Linked DNA regions of Homo sapiens: all the other regions are linked to region 4. The links are contacts of gene promoters, found by promoter capture Hi-C in blood cells and fetal thymus (Javierre and others, 2016). All regions are on one chromosome and are shown on one strand. The core of a region is centred on a gene start or on the middle of the fragment in contact, and the rest is flanking DNA. Distances in the headings are between cores, read along the strand shown. Region 1 holds the start of CCDC28B (coiled-coil domain containing 28B). Region 2 holds the start of HDAC1 (histone deacetylase 1). Region 3 holds the start of MARCKSL1 (MARCKS like 1). Region 4 overlaps PEF1-AS1 (PEF1 and COL16A1 antisense RNA 1).

Region 1 (5,282 bases), core at 1,893-4,392, 550 kb after region 4:
CAGGCCAGTCTGCAGATGAGGTTCCCTACCTTTTTCTTCTCTTCATTGACCAAATCAACCAATCACTACAGCTGCTCTGCTTCTGCTTTCCAAAGTAGCCCAGGTCCTGGGCCAGATGCAGGGGAGGTGCCTATCCATGAGTGAAGGCCAGTGTCTTCCTCACCTGGGTGGGTCCCACACTTGTGACCTCAGTTTTAGGACCAAGATCTGTGTTGGTTTCTTAGATTGCTAGCTTTTCCTCCAGGGGACCACAGCAGGTGAAGCTCAAGAGCGCATGGCTCTGCTAATAGTAAATTGTTTTCAGGGCCTTGTCCAGCTGAGAGCTTCATGTCCACCAGATTCTGAGAGGTGTCAGCAGCACTTTTTTTTTTTATTTGTTGTTTGTTTTCCATGAGGTTATCGGACCATGGGCTGAGCTCAGGCACTTTCTGTAGGAGACTGTTATTTCTGTAAAGATGGTTATTTAACCCTCCTCCACCCCATCACGGTGGCCCTGAGGGCTGACCCGGAGGCCAGTGGAGCTGCCTGGTGTCCACGGGGGAGGGCCAAGGCCTGCTGAGCTGATTCTCCAGCTGCTGCCCCAGCCTTTCCGCCTTGCACAGCACAGAGGTGGTCACCCCAGGGACAGCCAGGCACCTGCTCCTCTTGCCCTTCCTGGGGGAAGGGAGCTGCCTTCTGTCCCTGTAACTGCTTTCCTTATGGCCCAGCCCGGCCACTCAGACTTGTTTGAAGCTGCACTGGCAGCTTTTTTGTCTCCTTTGGGTATTCACAACAGCCAGGGACTTGATTTTGATGTATTTTAAACCACATTAAATAAAGAGTCTGTTGCCTTACTTGTTTCTCTCCTGACCTGTGTATTCCTTTGTTTCTGGATCTGATCCATTCAGCCCCTTCCATCATCACTGACTTGTTCAGGTCTGCTGCAGAGCGCCCATGGTGGTTCCCTGGTATCTTACATATTCCACAGTGTCTTTGAGCAGTCGCCACAGCCTCAGGATGCTGGCATATTCACTTGAGCTGCCTGAGTGGAGCCCTTGGCAAAGTTGGCAAGACCCTTGCCTCAGAGAGGATCACACACACACAAAAAAGTTTTCCCTGACCTGGGGGCTCACAGGCTAGTGAAGGGAAAAGGTACTTTTAGCTATAGACAGGTCAATGGTGCTGAGAGCAGAGAGGAGGCCCCTGCCCCCTTCAGCAAGGTGAGGGGGTGATACCTGGAATGGCCTTCTGAACCACAGGGCAGGTAGAAGATGAACGTCATTTAGTGATTAAATGGTACAGCTGGGAAGCAGGTCCATGGGACTGGGAGAGGGGGTGAGGCTGGGCCCAGAGTCTGGGTACCAGGTTAAGGAATGTGGGCTAGATCCAGAGGGCAGGGGGGGCAACTGAAGGTGTTTCAATAGGAAATTGATAGGCTCCAGCAGTAAGGCAAAAGGCATGGAGCCAGGCATAGGCCATTTGAGGCCCAGGTTAAGAGGGGTGGACACTCATCACTGCTATTTGGGTCTGAGCTGTGGGTAGGCTCCTATAGCCCTGGCCTGCCCAAGGGAATTCACAGGGGCCTCTAATTGTATGCATTCCTTAAGGAGAGCACATTCTCTGTTCAGTTTTTACACCCCCCATTTACCCACCTCAAGCATGGGACTCCTATATGGGAGACATGCTGCTGGTGGCCTCACCCAGCACCCTGTTCTCTCTGGGTCCTGGGTTGGTCAGGCACAAAGGATGATATGTGCTGAATGCCCAGGAAATGGCAGAGACAACCCACCTGCCCTTCCCTCCAGGCCTCCACAAATAGATGTGCCCACAATGACTGTGACAGTCCCAGCAGAGCCTCTGACCCTTCTAGCTGGGTCCTGATACATGTTTTCCATGCTGGCCATGTTATTTCTAGTCGCAGATCCTCTGGAGGGTGTGGGGGGGGTGCCGCCCCAACTCTTGGAGATTCCAAGCAAAGCAGCTCTGAGAATAATGAGGTTTCTGACCCCCCAGTGAAGCAGCTGAGGATGGGAACCACAGGGGTGCTCCCTCTGTCAGCAGCATTACCACTGTCTACTCTAGCAGCTCCGGTGGGGAAGGAGAGGGATTTCTGTTGTCCCCAGTCTGGGCCCCTGGTTATTGAAAAAGTTCGGAATTACTCTTTACCCTTGTGGAGTGTTCTGAGTGTTGGAAGTACCCAGGAAGAAGCCCTGAGCAGGTGCCCTCAGGAGCAGTGCCCATGGCTCCCCACATCAGCCAAGAGGCCCAACCCCAGGAAGCCACTCCTGCCCGGGGATGGGGAAGGTGGGCTGGGTGGCTGTGTGCACTGCCCTGGGCCAGCTCACTTGAGCCTGCTGAGCCGCCTGGCCAAACATGAGCCTCTCTCCTGTTGTATCAGATGCTGTTCTGGGGACCTGCGCCAGGAGCCTCTGCCAGGGCTTTAAATAGCTGCCCCCATTGATCTGGCTGCAGGCAGCAGCAGTCACACTGGGTCAGCCTCCATCAGGTGCTCAGGTTTCCCTGAGGACTGGAGTCAGGTGCCAGGGAATCGCGTGGTCTACCTTATGACCTGGTGCTCCCCACACCTGTCTCCTAGGCCTGGGGGGTGGGGAGGACTCCTGTCACTTCATCTGCGGCAAAATACAGCCCCCACCACTTACCAGAGAAAACTGTCTGGCATTGTAGAGAGAGGGGTTTTGCCCTCAAAAGACTGTTGCTTACTTTCAGTAGAATGGGGAATGACACTGGTATCTTCCTTAAGGGTTGTTATGGGGATGAAATGTATGTAAAGTGCTCAATAGGGCACTGGACTCACTCCATTGATGGCTGTCTTTGCTCGAAGTGTCTTCCTGATGCTGCTGCTGTTGCTGCTTGTGCTTCTTCTGTGCTTACATTCTCTCTCTCTCACTCACTCACTCTGTCTCTCCTCTCCCCCGCCCCACCCCCTTTCTGACAAAGCCACCACCATTTTGTAAGGAACTGTAGCTTCTCTCTGAAACTGCCGGGAAAGGGAAAATCTTTTTAAAATAGACATCACACAACCAACAGGGTCCCCTAGGTTCAGGCGGGGAGGTGAGGTCGAGTGAGAGGAACTGCTTAGCATACGCGGGGATGCTCCTCCCATCTCACCCCACCGCGCTAAGGAGAAGGTCACTTTCTCTTTAAATGCAAATGAACTCCCTCCAGCTTAGCTTTCACCCGGTGGTGTTCCCGGGAGGAGAGGGCGGAGGGCGGAGGGAACTTGCACCGAAGCATCACTCGAGACCCCAAACCTCCAGGTCAGTAGCCCCCTGAGGGAGTGAGGGCGGGGGCGGAATGACGCGGGTCTGACGCTCTGTCTTCGAGCGCGGCTGCGGAGCTGAGCGATGAGTTTGGCACATGGCTTTGGAGCCCGGGCTTGGGAAATAGATCCCCGGTCGCCCCAGCCGCTCCTGGGGAGCACAGGCTCCGGCTCCAGTTCTTCTATCAGGTCCCTAATTGGGTCAAGCTGCTGCACGGAGAGGCAGAGGATGCGCTCCTATCTCCCCTCCCCACACCCGCAGACCCCGTCAGTGGCAGCCAGCTATGTGTCAGTGTAAATGCTTAAGCGCCACCCACCCCCCCAACCCCCCCAGTCCCAGAATTCGAAGTTAGGCTCGGTAGCAGCAGCCTGGAATGAGACCCCCAGAGGAGGGAACCCCAGCCGACCGGAGGCTTGGGGGGCGCTGCTGGACCGGGGACCTCGGAGCAGCCCAGCCACAGGCGCAGCCTTTGTCGGAGGCCCAGGCAGCCAGCGGCCAACCACCCAGTCCACCCTGGCTGCAGCTGAAGCCCAGCAGGGACTTTCCGACTGGGAAAAATGAAGCAGCTGAAAGCACACCCGCGGGACCTATAGGGAGTCCCTAATATTTTCGGTTGGGGGTGGGTGGAAGTGGAGGGATGCCGGTGTCTATGTGGGGGAAACCCACAATGAACCCTGCCCTGTATGCTGCGGCTTCTCCTACAATTACCCACACGCTGGGGCTTTCCCAGGCGCCCCTACCTGCACCTTGTCCCCCTCCCATGCTGACAGGGTTTGTTAGCATCTGCTTAGGCCCCTGATAAATAGAATAGGGTTTAGTTAAGACATCCCTAATCTTCGGCTGGGCTTCTGCAGCTCACCTCCGTCTTGTCTCCCACTACATTTCCTCTGCCAGCCCCGCCCCCCAGCCACCGTGACAGGAAGCCCCAGTAGCGCCAAGATAGTTGTGACTGGTCCCACCCTTTCAGGAGGGGCCTAGGTTTTCAGGCAGAAGGGGAATTAGGTTGGGCCTTAGAAGGTCCTTCAAGTGTACATCCACGATCCCAGCAGCAGACACTGGCATCTGGCTCTGCCCCTACCGTATAGATGAGGTGACAAGCTGGAAGGTCCCAGGGCCCTTCCTTGGTGCAGCTCTCAGGGATTTCTGGGTGAAGGGCTAACTTTGCCCCTGGCTATCTTTGTGGGGTTGCTTCCCTCCTAGGCCTGAGGCCCAGCCAGCGCCCAATGGATGACAAAAAGAAGAAACGGAGTCCCAAGCCCTGCCTGGCCCAGCCAGCCCAGGCCCCAGGCACACTACGGAGGGTCCCTGTGCCTACCAGCCACAGCGGCTCCTTGGCCCTAGGACTTCCTCATCTGCCATCCCCCAAGCAGCGGGCCAAGTTCAAGAGGTGGGTACAGAAGGGAAGGAAAGGAGGAGGGACCCCAACTCTGGGTTGCACTGTAGAGAGGAAGGCAAGGGGGGCCTCCGCCTTTAGTTCCTAAGCAATAATTGATGCCTTTCTGGAGCAGACCCCTGAGAACTCAGAGCTCACTCAGACCCAGTCCCTACCCTCAACTGTGTGGCAAAAAGGCCAGGTGGGTCACTGGGATCACATAGCGTGAGGATTCGCCTCAGAGGAGGGAGTGAGCAACTCTGCAAGAAAGTGAATGTTCCACGCTGAGAGGCTTACCTGGTATAAATATGGAAGAAAGCTATTACCTGAAAGGTTTCAGGAACCACAGGTGGTTTGGGGGCCCTGGAGTATCAGGGAACAGGAAATGGTGAGGAAATACCTGGGGGCACAATTTGAATTCTCTGTTGAATTTTTTTTATGATTGGGAGTTTGCATGCTGCCTTATAATGTGTCCATGTTTGTTCCCCACTAAATACAATGTATTCTTTCTCCAGTTGCTCCAGATAAGACCACTGTGTTTCCCCCTGGTTTTGCACACCACTTGCCTAAGGGGCATGAAGCTCAAGGCTGTGGGGAGAGTAGCAGGAAAGGCAACTGGGAAGGCAGGAGGGCCAGGCTGGCAGGGGCAT
Region 2 (5,619 bases), core at 1,439-3,938, 640 kb after region 4:
AGAGCATCTGAGTCATAATAATGTAAATCTATCACCTGACTGACCTGCTGCCACACCTCATGATCTCATCTGATCCCCACACTCCTTCTCTTTGGGATACTGTGTACAGCCATAGCGTGGGTGAACTTTGTATTCCTATCCTCCCCATTTTTGTTATTTTATTTTATTTCTTATTTATTTGAGACAGAGTCTCACTCTGTCATCCAGACTGTAATGCAGTGGCCTGATCTCGGCTCACTGCAACCTCCACCTCCCGGTTTCAAGCGAATCTCCTGCCTCAGCCTCCTAAGTAGCTGGGACCTACAGGCACACACCACCACGCCCAGCTAATTTTTGCATTTTTAATAGAGACGGGGTTTCACCGTGCTGGGCAGGCTGGTCTCGAACTCCTGACCTCAGGTGATTTGCCCACCTCAGCCTTCCAAATTGTTAGGATTACAGGCATGAGTCACTGTGCCCGGCCTCCTCCCCATTTTATAACAAGGGAAATGGAGGCCCAGAATGGTTAAGTAAACCCACCCAGGGCTAGCTGAGAATTAGCAACAGAGAACTGGGAGTAGAATTTGTTCCCTGGCCCTTTGCTGTTTCTATTATAAGCCACCCAGTCTTAGATTTTCTGTTACCTTATAATTAATGACTCAAATGCAGTTTCTGAGTGAGAAACACAAGTCCCAAACACTCTTTAAAGAGGCATAAAGATGTATCTTGTTGTTTTCTTTTGTTTGAGACAAGGCCTGGCTCTATTGCCCAGGCTGGAGTGTGGTGACATGATCTTGGCTCACTGCAACATCTGTCTCCTGGGCTCAAGCCATCATCCCACCTCAGCCTCCTGAGTAGCTGGAACTACAGGAGCGCGCCCCCACACCTGGGTAATTTTTCTATTTTTTGTAGAGATGGGGTTTTGCCATGTTGCCCAGGCTGGTCTCGAACTCCTGAGCTCAAGTGATCCACCCATCTTGGCCTCCCAAAGTGCTGGGATTACAGGCGTGAGCCACTGTGCCCAGCCTCTTGTTGACTGTAGGACCACAAGTTGGCGGCTAACTTAGAGCAATGTTTGGCACACAGGAAGCACTCATTAAATATTGACATTATTGTAGTTATTTTAATAGCCCAGCATTGCACTTTTAGGTCTTTCAGCTTTCAGTGATGATCAGTTGATAATTGATGATCTGGTGGAGTGGTTCTTAATGGTAGAGTTGGGGGCAATTTTACACTCCCTTACACCCCACTAATCTTCCCCCCAACCCAATGGTAAAGCTATTGCACAGTACTTGGCAATGTCTAGAGACAATTTTGGTTGTCACAGCCTGGGGGGAAGGTGCTACTGGCATCTAGTGGGTAGAGGCTAAGGATGCTGCTTAATTTTTTTTTTTTTTGAGACAAGAGTTTCACTCTAGTTGCCCAGGCACAGAACAGCTTCACAGAAGCTGTTAATGCACAGAATAGCTTCCTACAAAAAAGCATTACCTGGCCCAAAATGTCATTAGCTACCAGGCTGAGAAACCTGCCCTCCTAGGCCGGGCGCTGTGGCTCACGCCCGTAATCTCAGCATATTGGGAGGCCGAGGTGGGCGGATCCTGAGGTCAGGAGTTCGAGACCACCTGGACCAACACGGAGAAACCCAGTCTCTACCAAAAATACAAAATTAGCCGGGCATGGTGGCACATGCTTGTAATCCCAGCTACTCGGGAGGCTGAGGCAGGAGAACCGCTTGAACACAGAGGCAGAGATTGTGGTGAGCCGAGATCACACCATTGCACTCCAGCCTGGGCAACTAGAGCGAAACTCTTGTCTCAAAAAAAAAAAAAAAAAAAAAAACAGGGAAAGAAAAGAAAGGAAACCTGCCCTCCTATCATAGGATAATCCCATTTCCTCCTGTCTAAAGAGACGCCTACTTAGTCATCCTGGGTGACTGCATCAGGGAGGTAGATTTTGGAGTCTGAAAGGCTGGGTTCTGTCACTTTGTTACAGTGCCTCTGGTGCAAAGAAAGCATTTTAAAAACCCTGTACAATTAAAAAATTGAATTTAATTACTTTGTGTAACTTTGAATAATTCACAGAAGTCTGAACTTCTTTATCCTGTCCTGTAAAATGGAGGTAAAAAGCCCTTGGCCGAGAGCTGTTTTGAGGAAAAACTGAAATAACATTGGTAAAGTGTCGCACAGTACTTGGCACACAGCAGCCCCTCGACAAACATTAGCTTTCTTTCCCTTTCTTGTCGGTTTCTTCCTCTCCAAACCCGCGTGTTGCTTTTCTTTTTAATTATTTTTCTGTAGCCCTCCTTTGCGGCCACAAACTCGCTTTCTAACCCAGGTTCAGCCCTTTTATTGGCTGAGTGACCTTGTGCAAGTCACTTTTCCCCTGTAGGCCTCGGTTTATTCTCCGTAAAATCAGAAAGTTGGCCTCCGATCTCCAAGCACGCTTTTCACGACGAAGTGGGACTGTTAAGTTTACAGAGCTGCTTTCCTCCCCCGGGACTGATGGTACGGTCCCCGGGCGGCTCCCCACCCATCTGTCGCAGACCTTGGTACAGGCCCAGGGGGCCCTCGGCGGCCTCTCCGGGCTGCCCTTGCCCCCTGCCGAGTTCCGGGCCCGTGTCTGCGCAAGCTGATTGGCTGGAGCGGTGCCCGGGCTGCGCGGCTATAGGTGAGCCCAGGAGGGGACGGGCGGGGCGGGCCGGAGGCCCGCCCCCTCCCCCCTGGGTCGGACGCTGAGCGGAGCCGCGGGCGGGAGGGCGGACGGACCGACTGACGGTAGGGACGGGAGGCGAGCAAGATGGCGCAGACGCAGGGCACCCGGAGGAAAGTCTGTTACTACTACGACGGTGAGCACCGTCCTCGCGGCGGGGGCGGGGCCAGGCCGGGCCGGACCGGGAACCTGGAGGCTGAGGCTGGAGCGCCGATGGGAGGCTGCGGGAGGCTGAGGCGCTGGGGAGAGGCTCGGAGAGGAGGCTGCGAGGGGGAAGTCGAGGCTGAGGGAGGAGGCTGCGAGGAAGGGAGATCGAGGCTGAGACCAAGAGGGGATCGCGTGGGGGAAGCGTGAGGTAATCTTGATGGGAAGATTCTGAGGAAGTCTGATGTGGAGAGTTTGAGTGGGACTCCTAGAGGGGAGGGTGCGTCGGAGCGGGGAGGCTGAATCTGATGGAGACGGCTGCAAGGATACATTTTCTTGCCGAGAACCCAAAGCTCTTCCCTGCCCCGTCCCTTCCTCATCTTTTCTGGGGGAAGAGTCCTGCACGACTGGTTGCCCGCCTCCCCTCCCCCAGCCTCTGAGCGGGGCCTGCGGTTGCTACTGCGACGTGGGGCGCCAGGGGTTGCAAGGAGAAGGATGCAACCTGTTAAAACAGACTTCTCACTTAATCTCTCAAGCAGGTTACTGTGTTCGAGGAAGTGTTGAGGGGCTGGGGCCGTGGGGTTGATCGGGTCACCCTTCCCAGTGACCGAAGTTCTCTCCGTGTCAGAGCTCAGAGTGTTAGGGGAGCACAGAGAAGAGGCACCGAACTCCACCTGAGGAGTCAGCGAAGGAGGGGACATCTTAGTTAGGACCTGAAGAACAGGAGTTCTTAGCCAGGCACAGGGAAGGCAAAGATAACAGCAAGTTTCAGAGGCAAGAGAGAGGACAGGACCTTTGAAAAACAGGCATTTGGCCGGGCGTGGTGGCTCACGCCTGTAATCCCAGCACTTTGGGAGGCCGAGGCTGGTGGATCACCTGAGGTCAGGAGTTCGAGACCAGCCTGGCCAACATGGTGAAACCCCGTCTCTACTAAAAATACAAAATTAGCCGCGCATGGTGGTGTGCGCCTGTAATCCCAGCTACTCTGGAGCCTAAGGCAGGAGAATCCCTTAGAACCCGGGAGGCAGAGGTTGCAGTGAGCTGAGATCGTGCCACTGCACTCCAGCTTGGACAACAGAGCGAGGCTCTGTCTTAAAAAAAAAAAAAAAAAAAGATGTAAATAGGGACCGGACCATGAAGGGCTGGGCATGCTGTCCCAAGGAAGTTGGACTTTATTGAGGGCACTTGTGAGTGATTCAAGTTTTATGCAGGTTATTGACATCATCAGGTTTATACCTTAGAAATTAAAGTAATGGGGGCCAGGTGCAGTGGCTCACACCTCTCTAATCCCAGTACTTTGGGAGGCTGAGGCAGGCAGATCACTCGGGGCCAGGAGTTCAGGACCAGCCTGGCCAACACGGTGAAACCCCATCTCTACTAAAAATACAAAATTTAGGCTGGGCACGGTGGCTCACGCCTGTAATCCCGGCACTTTGGGAGGCTGAGGCGGGCGGATCATGAGGTCAGGAGTTCAAGACCAGCCTGACCAACATGGTGAAACCCTGTCTCTACTAAAAATACAAAAATTACCCGGGTGTGGTGGTGCGCACCTGTAATCCCAGCTACTCAGGAGGCTGAGGCAGGAGAGTCGCTTGAACCCAGGAGGCAGAGGTTGCAGTGAGCCAAGATTGCACCGCTGCACTCCAGCCTGGGCAACAGGGTGAGACTCCATCTCAAAAAAAAAAAAAAAAATTAGCGAGGTGTGGTGGCACATGCCTGTAGTCCCAGCTACTCAGGAGGCTGAGGTGCGAGAGTTGTTTGAACCTGGGAGGCAGAGGTTGCAGTGGGCTGAGATCTCACCACTGCACTCCGTCCTGGGCAACAGAGCGAGACTTCGTCTCAAAAAAAAAAAAAACAAAAAAATTCAGATTGTAGGGGTAAGGAAGAAGGCATGGATCCCAAGTTCCTGGTGTGGGCAGTATTTTTTATTTTTTGAGATGATGTCTAGCTCTGTCACCCAGGCTGGAGTGCAGTGGCTTGATCTCGGCTCACTGCAACTGCAACCTCCACCTCCCAGATTCAAGGGATTCTCCTGCCTCAGCCTCCTGAGTAGCTGGGATTACAGGCGTGCGCCACCATGCCTGGCTAGTTTTTGTATTTTTATTAGAGATGGGGTTTCACGATGTTGGCCAGGCTGGTCTCAAACTGACCTCCAGTGCTCCATCTGCCTCAGCCTCCCAAAGTGCTGGGATTATAGGCATGAGCCACACTTCCTGGCCTCTGATGTGGGCAATTTGATGGTGAGTGTTTGGAGGTTTGGAGAATGCCATGTCAGTTGATAACTTTTTTTTTTTTTTTTTTTTGAGATGGAGTCTCGCTCTGTCGCCCAGGCTGGAGTGCAGTGGCGCAATCTCGGCTCACTGCTGCAAGCTCCACCTCCCGGGTCCATGCCATTCTCCTGCCTCAGCCTCTCCAGTAGCTGGGACTACAGGCGCCCGCCACCACACTGGGCTGATTTTTTGTATTTTTAGTAGAGACAGGGTTTCACCGTGTTAGCCAGGATGGTCTGGATCTCCTGACCTCATGATCCGCCCGCCTCGGCCTCCCAAAGTGCTGGGATTACAGGTGTGAGCCACCGCACCCGGCCCCAACTTTTTTTTTTTTTTTTTAAACTTCTAGAGATGGGGTCTCAATATGTTGCCTGGGCTTGTCTTGAACTCCTGTGCCTGGCCTCAAGCAATCCTGCCACCTTGGCCTCCCAAAGTGCTGGGATTACAGGCCTAAGCCACTGTTTTTTTTGTTGTTGTTGTTTGTTTGTTTAGAAATAACTATTGATAACTGTTAAGA
Region 3 (5,839 bases), core at 1,918-4,417, 690 kb after region 4:
TTCCTGCTGAGTCCCTCACGTTTCTTCCCCAACCCCTCAGATTTTATATTTTCTATTTCTCTGTGTATTTATATAAAAATTTATTAAATATAAATATCCCCAGGGACAGAAACCAAGGCCCCGAGCTCAGGGCAGCTGTGCTGGGTGAGCTCTTCCAGGAGCCACCTTGCCACCCATTCTTCCCGTTCTTAACTTTGAACCATAAAGGGTGCCAGGTCTGGGTGAAAGGGATACTTTTATGCAACCATAAGACAAACTCCTGAAATGCCAAGTGCCTGCTTAGTAGCTTTGGAAAGGTGCCCTTATTGAACATTCTAGAAGGGGTGGCTGGGTCTTCAAGGATCTCCTGTTTTTTTCAGGCTCCTAAAGTAACATCAGCCATTTTTAGATTGGTTCTGTTTTCGTACCTTCCCACTGGCCTCAAGTGAGCCAAGAAACACTGCCTGCCCTCTGTCTGTCTTCTCCTAATTCTGCAGGTGGAGGTTGCTAGTCTAGTTTCCTTTTTGAGATACTATTTTCATTTTTGTGAGCCTCTTTGTAATAAAATGGTACATTTCTATATCCTCCTGAGCTTGTTTCCTATGTGTCCCTGGGTTGGTTTCAACTCTACTTCCCTGCCGTTCTGGTGTCCATGAGTATTGGGGCAACCCCCTGAACAAGAAAACCCCATAAACTTACCTGCCTGCCTTAACTCCTCCCTTGAGGTTTGAGGTAAACTACTTTCCACCAATCTTCTCACCCTACCCCCAGAAGACCACTCATTAAAGCACCACTAAAGGGACGACATTTATTCCTTTTCCAAATGTTACAGTAAAACCAGGTGGAAGAGAATGGTTTTAGCAGTTAGAAAAAAAAAAAAAGTACAAATCTGGGGTTTGGCCATTAAAAGTTATTTACAACAGTGGGAGAAAAAAAGACAAGAAGTTGTTTCACATTACAGACCTCCCCCCACCCCAAAGCCTAATACTTGCTTACCAAGTCAAAAAAGAGACACAGTTGATTCACAGGCTGGAGGTTTGAACTTGAGTAAGACATTTATAAAAACCTAGACGGGGCAGTGTCCTCCCCAGCCCAGGTGCCACTAGGCACAGCACAAGAGACTAAAAACAACAGGGGAAGGCTGGACACTCAAGGTTTGGGAGTATAAGCACCCCACTTCTGGCTCAGGGATTTGGGGAGTAGGGTAAACAAAACCTACTTGGAAAAGAATTGGGGAAGAAAACCAACAACTGCCTTATGCAGGGGTGGGGACAGGGAAGGAGGTAGGGCCAGGGACAGGAGCATTTCACATCACTAACCTAACTTGGGAAGCTGTAAGGGACCATCTTCAACTGGCCTTAAGAGGAGAACCAGATGGCTGATGGGAGAATCCACAGGAGGGAGAGGAGGAAAGGGAACGTGGCTGGGAGGAGGCAATAGCCCCTTCCTTTCTGGGCACAGGAAGGCAGCCAGGGCACCAGGTCCAGGCAGTGACCTCACAAGGACAGCACAGTTTTTGCAGCTTAGAGATCACCCACCTGCCCCTACCTAGCTACTCATTCTGCTCAGCGCTGGCTGGTGTAGGGCCACTCTCCGGCCCCGAGGGAGTGGATGGCTCTGTAGCCTGGGGCCCTGCCTCTTCTTCTGAGGCTGCACTAGCCTCTGCCCCCTTGGCCTGGGGTTCCTGGCTCTCAGGGGTGGCTGCGGCCTTCCCTTCCTGAGCAGTGCCCTCGTCGCTGCAGGCACCGATCTCCCCCTGCTCCTGCTCTTCCTCTGTGGGTGAGGAGGCAGAAGAATCACCCCCACCCTCCTTCCGATTTCTCTTGAAGGACAGGCCGCTCAATTTGAAAGGCTTCTTGAAAGAGAATTTCTTCTTCTTCTTGGGGGTCTCCTTGGGGGGGACCTCCCCCTTGGCCTCAGCACCCTGGCTAGGGGGTGCTGGCTCGATGGCATCGCCAGTGGCCCCGGCTGCCTCATCTGTTCCGTTCACAGGGGGCGACTCCCCTTCACCCTTGGGGGATAAGTCTCCATTGCTTTTCACGTGGCCATTCTCCTGCAGGGCAGAGGGAATAGCAATGAGGGCAGGGGCTCCCCCTCCCCCAGCCCGCTTCTGATCCCTTCTAGAGGAAGGGGTCCTCGATTCGATTCTACTGCAACCCGAAAGTCTGGCTTCAGCCTCACCCACACCCAGGATCCCGTCAAACACCTCCCTCTCGCCCCTCACGGGCGCGCGGGGAGCGAGCGCGCAGAGGGCGCGACCGGCAGGAGGCGCTGGGGTCCCGTGGCCCCCACCCCCGTCCCCCGGGGCGCGCTCTCTATTCCGCGCGGAACCGCTCCGGATCTGCTGTGCGGATCCCGGGCAGGCGGGCGAGCCGCTCTAGGCGACATTGGGCGGGAAGCCGCCCCGGGGCGCTGTCTCTCTGCACCTGGACGGCCTATTTTCCCAGCCTCCCGCTTTGTGTAAGTGGCCCCCACCCACCCCAGGCTCTCCCGCATCTCGGCTCCCCCTTAAAAAAAAAAAGACCGTGGGCCACCGAGGTCGGGTCGGCGGGTGGAGTGCGCTCCCCGCCGGGCCCCAGCTCCGCGGCCCCTGGGCGCCCCCTTGGCGTGGCCCAGCAGCGCCTTTGTTCCCCGCGCGGCACTCGGGGCGGCCGGGGGGCAGCGCCGGGGACCGGGGCCGCGAACAAAGAAGGCGGCAGGGCCCGGCCGGCGCCCCCTCCCCGCCCCTCCCCTCGCTTCGCCCGCGGGGGCTGCGGCGCCGAGAACAAAGGGACCGGGCGGGGGAGGGGGCGCCGCGTGTCCCGGGCCGGACAAAGCGCGCGGCCCCGGCCCCGGCCCCGGGCCCTAGAAGGGGCGAGGTGCGAGAGGAGGGGCTGGGGCCGGCCGGGCCAAGCGTACCCACCTGGCCGTTGGCCTTCGCGGGGGAAGCGCCTGCTGCCTCCTCGGCGGTCACGTCGCCCCGGGGAGCCTTGGAGCTCTGGCTGCCCATGATGGGGGTCTGCTGGGGGGCGCTTGGAGCCGCCCCGGGCTCGCGCCGCAGGGGATAGTACGGCGGGGTCGGCCCGGCCGGCGGAGGGGTGGGGCTGGCGCCCGAGGGGGAGGGGTGCCGGGGGAAGCCGAGCTGCACCTCCGCTCCGCGGCCGACCCGCTAGCTGCGCCCGCCGCCGCTCCGCTCCGCGCCAGAATGCCGCCCGCCGCCCGCCGAGCTGCCTATATATAAGCGCCCGGAGCTCGGGGCGGGGCCGGACATTTAAATGCGCGCCCAATCGAGGGGCGGAGGCGGGGTTGGCTCGCAGGCCCCACTTGCGCAGCAGGCGACGCTGGCGGTCGGGTACCCCCCACCCCACCCGAATCCCAGGGGCAGGTAGAGTCCGGTGTGGGCAGGAGCGAGGCCAGTCCTCCCGCGAGCTGGGCGGGGCGGGGCGGGGGGCCTGGAGGAAGGAGACGGGCAGTCATTCCATCCTCTCCGCTCCACCTCTCCGGTGGGCGCCCCCGCAGCCTGGAGCGGCCCCCAACGCCTTGGTCCTGCAGCCGCTGGCAGTCTCCCGCTTGAACCCTTCGAAGGGCTCACACGACCAGGCTCGTCAGATGGCTGGTCCTGAATTATACTCTAGAAATGTGGTCATAGAAGCTGCAGGGCCCCTGCGCTGGGCTCGGCACCCGCTCCGGCCTGGAGAGCGGTCAGAGGTCCCACCCACGTCCCTGCCTGCCTGCCATGGCCAGCCGGGGAGCGGAGGGCTCTGCCTTGCCTCGGGGTCACTCTGGTCGGACTAGTGAGGCCTTTCCCTCATTCCTCCTTTCAGTCCCTTGGTGGCCAGTCATTCTGAGTGGGGACAGACAGATTCGCCTTGAGCCCCTCCTGCCCTCAGCCTGGACCCACTGCAAAGTCCCACGTGGGGGACTTTGTGACCTTGAAGGGCATCTCCATCCCCATTGAAAGGCCAAGGCTCAGAGGCATTGACAACCTGTCTGACTTGGCTCTGGTCCTTCCTCTTTACCTCCACACACAACTCTGCTCCCCTACATCAGGGTGCCCCAGGCCGGCAGAGGAACCCCAGCTGGGGACTCAACAAACCTCAAAACACCCCAGTTTCTGAAGGGGAGGGATAGGATGCTACCAAGGGTCCCTTCAAGGGACAGCCCCTTGAGGACAGCCCTCAAAGCTGCCCAGCCCAGCTTCCCACCCTGCCTGAGAGCAAGGGAGCCCGGAGGTGCTCCGGGCTGGAGACTCCCTAGCTTTGGTCCTCTGCCACCTCTCCTTCTGCTGGCCTGGATAGGCTGGTGGGAACCCCAGAATCCTGGCCGGCCCCGGATGTCTGTGTCCGGCTGCCAGCCCTCAGCCCCCAGGAGGAAAGGGATGGGGGCTGGAAGGAAGCAAAGTGTTGCAAATGCAAGGCTGTGTCCCAGCCAGCTCAGCAAGTCCCTCCCCTCCCTCCTACGGTGAAGCCTCCTGGGAGGCCTGAGGCTGTGAAGTGTGGAGACACCCCAGGGCCTGAGAAATTGGGAACTCCCCAGAGATCTGACCACAGAGGGGCGGGGAGGGCTGAGGTGGCTTCTGCATTCTGCACTCACTCCTGTATCCTCCATCCCCACCCCCACCCTGAGACTACAGAATACCCTCAGCTATCTCAGCTTCACTTGCCCCCCACCCCCGCCCCATTTCACAGACTGGGACCCTGAGGTTCAGGAAGAGAAAGTGACATGCCCAAGGGCACACAGCAGCTACCAGTAGCTGAGGGTGAGAAAAGGCTTGGAGAGGTTTGATAACATGGGCCAAGGGCTGTAAGGAATCCCCTGGCAGAATTTTCTGTTGAGATCTGGGGCTGCCTGGTCAGAGTGGGAGGCAAGGGCTAGCTTTGGGACGGGGAGAGGCACTGTGCCCCCACTGCAGCTCACTGAAAGTACCGTGACTTCTCCACAGCTTGCCACTAAGGGAAGGATGTCATGACCTGCTCTCTGTCTCAGCCACAATAGGGAACCCACAATGCTGCCAGGCGCTGCCCGCACCAGCTGGCTGGGCTCAGAGGGACGGAGGGTGTGTGAGTCTTGCACGGGTTGGGGTCAGAGGTTAAGAGCAGAACCTAAGGCTTCTGATCCCCAGGCACTGCCTGGCGGGGATGAGAGGCAAATCTTCCCAAGGATCCCAGGAGGGGCATCGAAGAGCATCAGGGTAAAAGACCCCAAGTCCCCAGAGCCCCAGAGGGAGCCTGGTCCCCAGGGGATGCCCTGTATCCCCACCAGACATCCCAGGAGGCTGGGGAGGGGGCGCCTGGGAGCCTGATCCCTCAGCAAATCCAGGTCCCAGCAGAATCTGACTTCTGGAAGAGGCAAGAGGTTTAGGATGCTTCAGGGTGGGGGTGGGAGGTTACAGCAGCCCCATGGCCTCCTCGGTCCACACTGCAGCTCCTTCCTCCCCAGCTGCTGCCAACCCAGACAATGCGCCCATTGTTCTGCGTCTCCGGGAGCCAGTGTGCAACTGCGTGTATCTGTTTCTCTCTGTGTGTGACTGTGTGTATTGCTCTGTGTCTGTGTGTGTGAGACTTTCTGGCTGTGTGTGTGTGTGCGCGTGTGCCCAGGTGTGCACATTTGTGGTTGCGTGCGTCTGGATCTTTGTTTGGCCCTGTATATTCAAGGGTGAAGGAGAGAGCCTGGTGATCCTGGTAACTGAGACTTGCTGGGTTTGTGCCTGCCCTTCCTTGAGACTGTTGGTGACTGTGTCTGACTGGGTGTGAAACTGAGTGTGTGGCTGTATGAGAGAATATCGATGGGCCGGGCGTGGTGGCTTCTCGCCTGTCATCCCGGTGCTTTGGGAGGCTGGGGCGGGAAGACTGCTTAAGCCCAGAGTTCGGGAATATCTGAA
Region 4 (5,793 bases), core at 813-3,312:
TGAGTGCTTACTAGGTGCCAGACGTTGTGCTAAGTACTATGTGTTGTTTAATTTTCACCACAGTCTTTTGAGATAGAGACTATTACCCATTTATAATGAGGAGCTGAGGCTCAGAGAGGTTAAGTGACCTTCCTGTTATCAAAAAGATAAATGGAGCCCAGGCGCAGTGACTCGCGCCTATAATCCCAACACTTTGGGAGGCAGGGAGGAGGACCGCTTAAGCCTAGGAGTTCGAAACCAGCCTGGACAACATAGTGAGACCCTATCGCTACAAAAAATAGTTTTAAAAAATTAGCCAGGCATGGTGGCATGTGTCTGGAGTCCCAGCCACTCCAGAGGCCAAGGTGGGAGGATTGCTTGAGCCCAGGAGGTCAAGGCTGCAATGAGCTGTGTTTGCACCACTGCACTCCAGCCTGGGCAACAGAGAGACTCTGTCTGGGGAAAAAAAAAAAAAAAAAAAAAGATAAATGGAGAAGTAGGACTTGATCCCAGGTCTGCATTTTTTTTAACTACTCAGTATTTAATAGTTAGTAGATTGTGTCTTCTTTACCTTCCTAACCCCCCAGTTCAAAAAATATTGGTGGAATTGAGCTGCAAAACTTCAGAAGGGAAGAAGGTTGAAGGTCAAGTGGGTATTTGCCTGGAGAGAGAACAGTGACAAGCTGGCCTGCAAACTGGAGTCATGTGACACACACTCATTTATTCCACAAACATATGATCCCATTGGGTTCCCACCTCTTGCCAGGCTCTGTTCTAGGTGATGAGAATCCAACTCCTATGAGAATTATTTGCCCCCATTCCCCTATGCCCAGCAAAGGGCTTAGGAGAACTATCTGTGGGAGGTCTGTGCTATTTCGTGGATGGAGCATCCACATCTTCTCTTAGGGAGTCAGGAACGTGCCAAAGCCAACAGCCAGGGCTGTGCCTCTGAGGACCCACACAGGCCCAGGTATGTTTGTTTTGGAGGGGGCTGGATAAAAGAGAGATCAGGATCTTCCTAAGACTGAAAAACAATCAACTCACTTCCAAAACCTCATCTACCTGAGGCAGACAGAGGTGGGTGGAGAAGTTCCTGTTATTGTTTCACTTGTAGCCCAAGGGGAAAGCATGGATTCCAGACTTTTTTTAGAACACAGAGCACTTTCCTGAGTTCGTGGAAGCCCTGCGGTTGACCCATTAGGGGTGAGGCAGAGCTTGGTAATGAAAAGCCCATCCACTGGAAAATATTGCCTCCCCTAGAGACACAGCCTCCCAGGAGCCACTTGGCTCGCACCAAGCTTCTGTAAGGCTTACTGAGAAGGAATACCAACACCCACCTAATTATTATGGAATTAATTCTCTTTGATTCCAACTAGATCCAGTTCTGAAATTTAAATTCCAGTTGGATGCTGTGGATCAGAGGATGATTTGCAACTTTCCACAGAAGCAACAGAGGAATGAGAACAGCAGACGTGGCAATTTGGCCACACTCCCCTTCCATTATGGGATCATAAGTAGAGTACGTTGACATCGTCTATTCCCATAAACTGTTCAGGACAGCCACAAAAAAGATCTAGTCCTTTGGGATCTCCAGCACCAAAAAAAAAAAAAAAAAAATATCCATGGCCGGGCACGGTGGCTCACATCTATAATCCCAGCACTTTGGGAGGCCGAGGCAGGCAGATCACCTGAGGTCAGGAGTTCAAGACCAGCCTAACCAACATGGTGAAACTCTGTCTCTACTAAAAATACAAAAATTAGCTGGGCATGGTGGCTTGTGCCTGTAGTCCCAGCTACTCCGGAGGCTGAGGCAGGAGAATCACTCGAACCCTGGAGGTGGAGGTTGAGTGAGCCAAGATCGCACCACTGCACTCCAGCCTGAGTGACAGAGTGAGACTCTGTCCCCCCACCTCCAAAAAAAAAAAAAACTAGTCTTGTAAAGGGGTTAACAGACCCCAGATGAAGAAAGAGTCTAATTAGATTCTGTTGAATTTGAGTGACAGAGGAAAATATTATGACAAAAAATGAAGATTTAAATTCCAGAAGCATCAAAGTTTAGATTTTTCTCTGCAGAATAAATACACAGCAGCCTTTTCTCCATCTTATTGAGCAGAGGGTTTCTCAAATTAAGGACCCTCCAGTCCCATCCTTCACACTGCCATCAGCGAACTCCCCACTCGGCAAACCTGACTTGACACACCTTTGTGAGAAACCCACCAGTGGCTTCCAACTGTCTTCCCTGCTCATGCTCCAAAATCCAATCACACTGTCCTGTCTCCCGTCACTCAGCCTGCTGCAACCAGTCATTTCTGGGCCTTGGCACGTGCTGTTCCCTCTGCCTGAATCCATCTCTTCGTCTAGACATGGTTAGGTTCCCCAGCTGTGCACTCCCCTGTACCTGGCACTGCCCTATCATCCCACTTTATTGTAGGTGCTTGTTTAACTGTCTGCTCTCCCTGTGGATGCTGTGGGAGCAGGGACCATATCTGTCTAGTTTGCCTTGGGATCCCCAGAGCCTAGTACAGTCCCTGGGACAAAGTAGGAAGAGGAATGGACTCATCAAGTTAGACTTTTCCAATCTGAATGATCTGTGTGCTGCCTGGAAAGCCTGGAGTAGGTTAAGAAATGAAGACAGAAGGATAATGGGGTTGGAACGTGCAAAAGCTGCCTAAGAGGAATGGACGACACATGCCCCTCCTTGCTTTCTCTTCAGCTTACCCAGCTCCTGAACTGATGAGCAAGATCCATGGATTTCTTGCTGACCACAGTAACAGAAGAGACTATAAAATTCAGCTTTCCATCTGGTTCTTCATGGTCCAAGAAAATACAGCAATTTCAAACTCCGGGGAGACATGCATTCAAATCATGAAAGCTTAAACCTAGCCTGTCGTAGAATCCCTTAAGAGTAGCATGAATTTGACTCAGGAAGAAAAGTGAAGAAGGCATCATTTACTCTATAAGGATCAATTCCCTGGTGACCCTTAAAGGGGATGAGTTGGATGTTTCCTCATAGCAGTTTTTCCCCTCTGGCCTTCAAAGCCAACCTGCTCAATTCCACAGCTGGTCCTTGCGTCTCTTTCTTTCTGCCAGCGCCAACATGCTCCTCATGAGAAGGCCTATCATCAGCTAGTACTCGGCAGACTAGGCTGAAAGAGGAAGCTGGCCTTCCAATGGGAGTGCTTTAACATCTGTCCTCTTCCACTGTCCAAAACCTGGCTGCTACTTCAGTACAAAAATGATGCCTTTGCTTTTTAATGTTTTATGTTAGAACCAGGGTTAACTGAGAATAGCTGGGGAGGGATGAAAAAAGAATCAGCGCCTCCTTTATCTAAAAACATCACATGAGACACTCGGGCATGCTCAGGAGTCTGATTTCATTCTTCTGGCCACCAGCACACCTTTGCTCCTGGCAGGAAAAAAAAAAATAGGGCAAAGGTTCTGAAAAGCCATCAATAGGCTGGTCTCCTGGTATTTGGGACCCAACTAGAGAAGGGAGTTTTCAGAAATGTGCTAGAAATACCAGCTCTGCAGAGATTTGACAGCCGGTTTGAAGGCTTCAGGCAGTTTGGATAAGCATCTAGACTTTGGGTACATTTCTGAGCCTGCTCTGTGAGTCCTTTGAAGTGTATCCAACTTGAATAAACCTTCCAGATAGCTGGGGCCAGTGAAAAAGCTTTCTTTGGAAATCCCCCTGGAAGTGCCTTGTTGCTTTCTCACAGGGCAGCCAGCCCATCAGGACAAGAGATCTAAAAAGTAGAGAAGGAAGAAGCTCAAGAGAGAATGTTTCTATAATATTCAATTCACTGTCTTTTTTCCCCTTCCTAGCCTTTTTTACATAGGGAGAAGGACACAACAGATAGATCACCAAACTCCCAGTGGACTTTGAGGACCGTGAGCTTAGATCTGCTCGTGGCTTGCCCATGAACTCTTTGTACTGATACAACCTGGCTGTTTCTAAAGGCCTAGGCTAAGATGTACAGGAAAAGTACCACGTATATTAGAATAATAAAGAAAAACAGGAGATGTTATTTGCCCTCCAGAAAGTCATTGCTGGAAGCACTTATAGAGAGCTAGTGACCATGCATTGGTACAGGCAGAAGGTTCCATCTCATTTCCCAGAGAAGCATTCCCTGGATGCCTAGGACAGAGCTGGAGCCTGTCTTCTCTCCTGTTTGCACAGGTATTCTAATCACAGAATTACTGGAGCATCAAGAAGTGCCTGCATGCTTGGAAGGGCTTCCAGGCAGATGAACACACCTCAGCACCGGGTGGCATTTTCCCAGGGTGCAACCCGGACCGGCTCTGGGTCACACTGACAAGGTGAAGTGGATGGGCAAAGAGTGGGTGGGGTACTGAACACGGGTTTCTTTAGGGAATCAAATAGGGAGGGACCTTTAAAGCAGGAAGTGGGACCTTCCAACGTGCTTTGGTTCACTTGAGAGAAGAGGCTGAGTGATGCTCCTTCTCTAACTCAAGAGACGTAGGCATGAAGAACAGGGCACAAGATCCCGAGGAGCAAAGGGTCATCAGCTGCCCCCATCCAGCAGAATCTCACAGCACCACTGGCTGACCACAGGCAAGGAGGGAAATACCCTTTATTTTTTAATTTTTATTTTTCGGAGACTGAGTCTCATTATGTTGCTTAGACTGGTCTCAAACTCCTGGGCTCAGGCGATCCTCCCACCTCAGCCCCTTGAATAGCTAGGATTACAGGTATATGCCCCTGTACCCAAAATGCCCTTTTTTGTTCCTGGGACTAAACGGGAAAAGGAGGGCAACAGGGAGCTCTGGCTGCAGCACCAGAGGAACCCACTGGAAGGGAAAGGGCAGATAGTTTTGTTTCTTTATTATTTAAAAAATATTAACAGCAATTAAAAACAACAACAACAACAAAAAAAACATTCACAACCTGTCACAGAGTCCTATAAGCTTTGGCCATTTATTCCCAACGGAGTCTTTCATCCAAAGGCAGGTGGGGAATTTCAGCCAAAAGGCCCCTTCATGGTTTTCATGGGTGGGTACTGCTGCTCCATCGGCATGGCCCCAAAGCAGTCAGAGGGATTACAGTGGCCAGCCTTGCCTGGCTGGCCCATGGGACCCGGGGGCCCAGGGATGCCAGGGATGCCTTGCTGGCCCATTGGTCCTGTTGCACCCATCTTGCCATAGCCTGGAGGACCTTGAGGACCTAGGGAGGGAAGGGCCACAGAGGGAAAATCAGAAGACCCAGATCATAAGGGAAAAGAAGCCATAATGGCATCAAATAATACCTTACATTTGATGACTGTTTCTCAAGTTACCACATGTTTTCATGAAGACCTAGTCTGATCCTCACGTTGATTTAACAATAACAATACTGCTGGCAAGTTTTATTTAGAACTTCCATGTGCCAGGCACAGGGCTGAGTGCTTTTGATGCATTATTCATTGAATCTGCACAATTTCCTGAGAAAGAAGCTATTGTCTAATTTTGTAGATGAGGACACAGGCTCAGAGAGGTTGCACCTCTGGTAAGTTGTGATGCTGGGTCTCAGAGCCAGGTCATCAGGCTTTGGCCATCCTCTTTCAGGCTATATAGCCAAACATTCATCGTAGAGAGCACTTCCAAAGGGCTTAAGTGGCCTCTTCAAGGTGTACAGCCAGTGAGGTGCTGAGTAGAACTTGAACTCGAGTTCCTCATCCCCACCTCCATGCAGCTCTCTCCTACTGCATCATGCTAGCCCAGTTTAGGACTTAAGGACAGGTACTGAGTCTTCCGCCCCCACATCCCCACAGGCCCTGGCAGAGTGTCTTGCACACAGTGGCATTCCTATAAATG

What was found. Contacts are between HindIII fragments. The CHiCAGO score rates a contact against its expected background, and 5 or more counts as called.
Region 1: the fragment with the promoter of CCDC28B here is called in contact with a fragment that was not itself captured in region 4 in 1 of 17 cell types (fetal thymus); the score reaches 5.4 in fetal thymus.
Region 2: the fragment with the promoter of HDAC1 here is called in contact with a fragment that was not itself captured in region 4 in 1 of 17 cell types (neutrophils); the score reaches 5.0 in neutrophils.
Region 3: a contact is called between the fragment with the promoter of MARCKSL1 here and a fragment that was not itself captured in region 4, in 1 of 17 cell types (neutrophils). The highest score is 6.4, in neutrophils.

What each region holds. Positions count from the first base shown.
Region 1 is chr1:32,197,453-32,202,734 of GRCh38, forward strand. It overlaps CCDC28B (coiled-coil domain containing 28B), which reads left to right and starts at 3,143. Exons shown (of 6, transcript NM_024296.5): 1 at 3,143-3,257; 2 at 4,461-4,647. The coding sequence starts at 4,484. TXLNA (taxilin alpha) reads left to right here. Exons shown (of 11, transcript NM_175852.4): 11 at 1-833. RefSeq lists enhancers at 1,802-2,360, 2,361-2,918, 3,131-3,210, 3,469-3,988, 3,901-4,120 and 2 more. The HindIII fragment of the contact is 8,664 bases long and covers 1-5,282 here.
Region 2 is chr1:32,289,395-32,295,013 of GRCh38, forward strand. HDAC1 (histone deacetylase 1) reads left to right here and starts at 2,689. Exons shown (of 14, transcript NM_004964.3): 1 at 2,689-2,824. The coding sequence starts at 2,776. RefSeq lists a silencer at 2,403-2,812 and enhancers at 3,423-3,482, 3,554-4,128. The HindIII fragment of the contact is 8,638 bases long and covers 1-5,619 here.
Region 3 is chr1:32,333,066-32,338,904 of GRCh38, forward strand. It overlaps MARCKSL1 (MARCKS like 1), which reads right to left and starts at 3,168. Exons shown (of 2, transcript NM_023009.7): 1 at 2,882-3,168; 2 at 774-2,032. The coding sequence starts at 2,968. The coding sequence ends at 1,532. It overlaps LOC124903949 (a long non-coding RNA gene), which reads left to right and starts at 2,312. Exons shown (of 2, transcript XR_007065661.1): 1 at 2,312-2,439. It overlaps HDAC1 (histone deacetylase 1), which reads left to right. Exons shown (of 14, transcript NM_004964.3): 14 at 1-561. RefSeq lists silencers at 1,990-2,429, 2,570-2,649, 2,780-2,929, 2,950-3,479, 4,413-4,541 and enhancers at 2,821-3,390, 3,660-3,749. The HindIII fragment of the contact is 20,076 bases long and covers 1-5,839 here.
Region 4 is chr1:31,647,690-31,653,482 of GRCh38, forward strand. It overlaps PEF1-AS1 (PEF1 and COL16A1 antisense RNA 1), which reads left to right. Exons shown (of 6, transcript NR_184313.1): 3 at 4,160-4,299. COL16A1 (collagen type XVI alpha 1 chain) reads right to left here. Exons shown (of 71, transcript NM_001856.4): 71 at 4,574-5,164. The coding sequence ends at 4,962. Among named protein-coding and RNA genes, the nearest start is that of PEF1, 5.7 kb to the left of the region's middle. The HindIII fragment of the contact is 1,574 bases long and covers 1,276-2,849 here.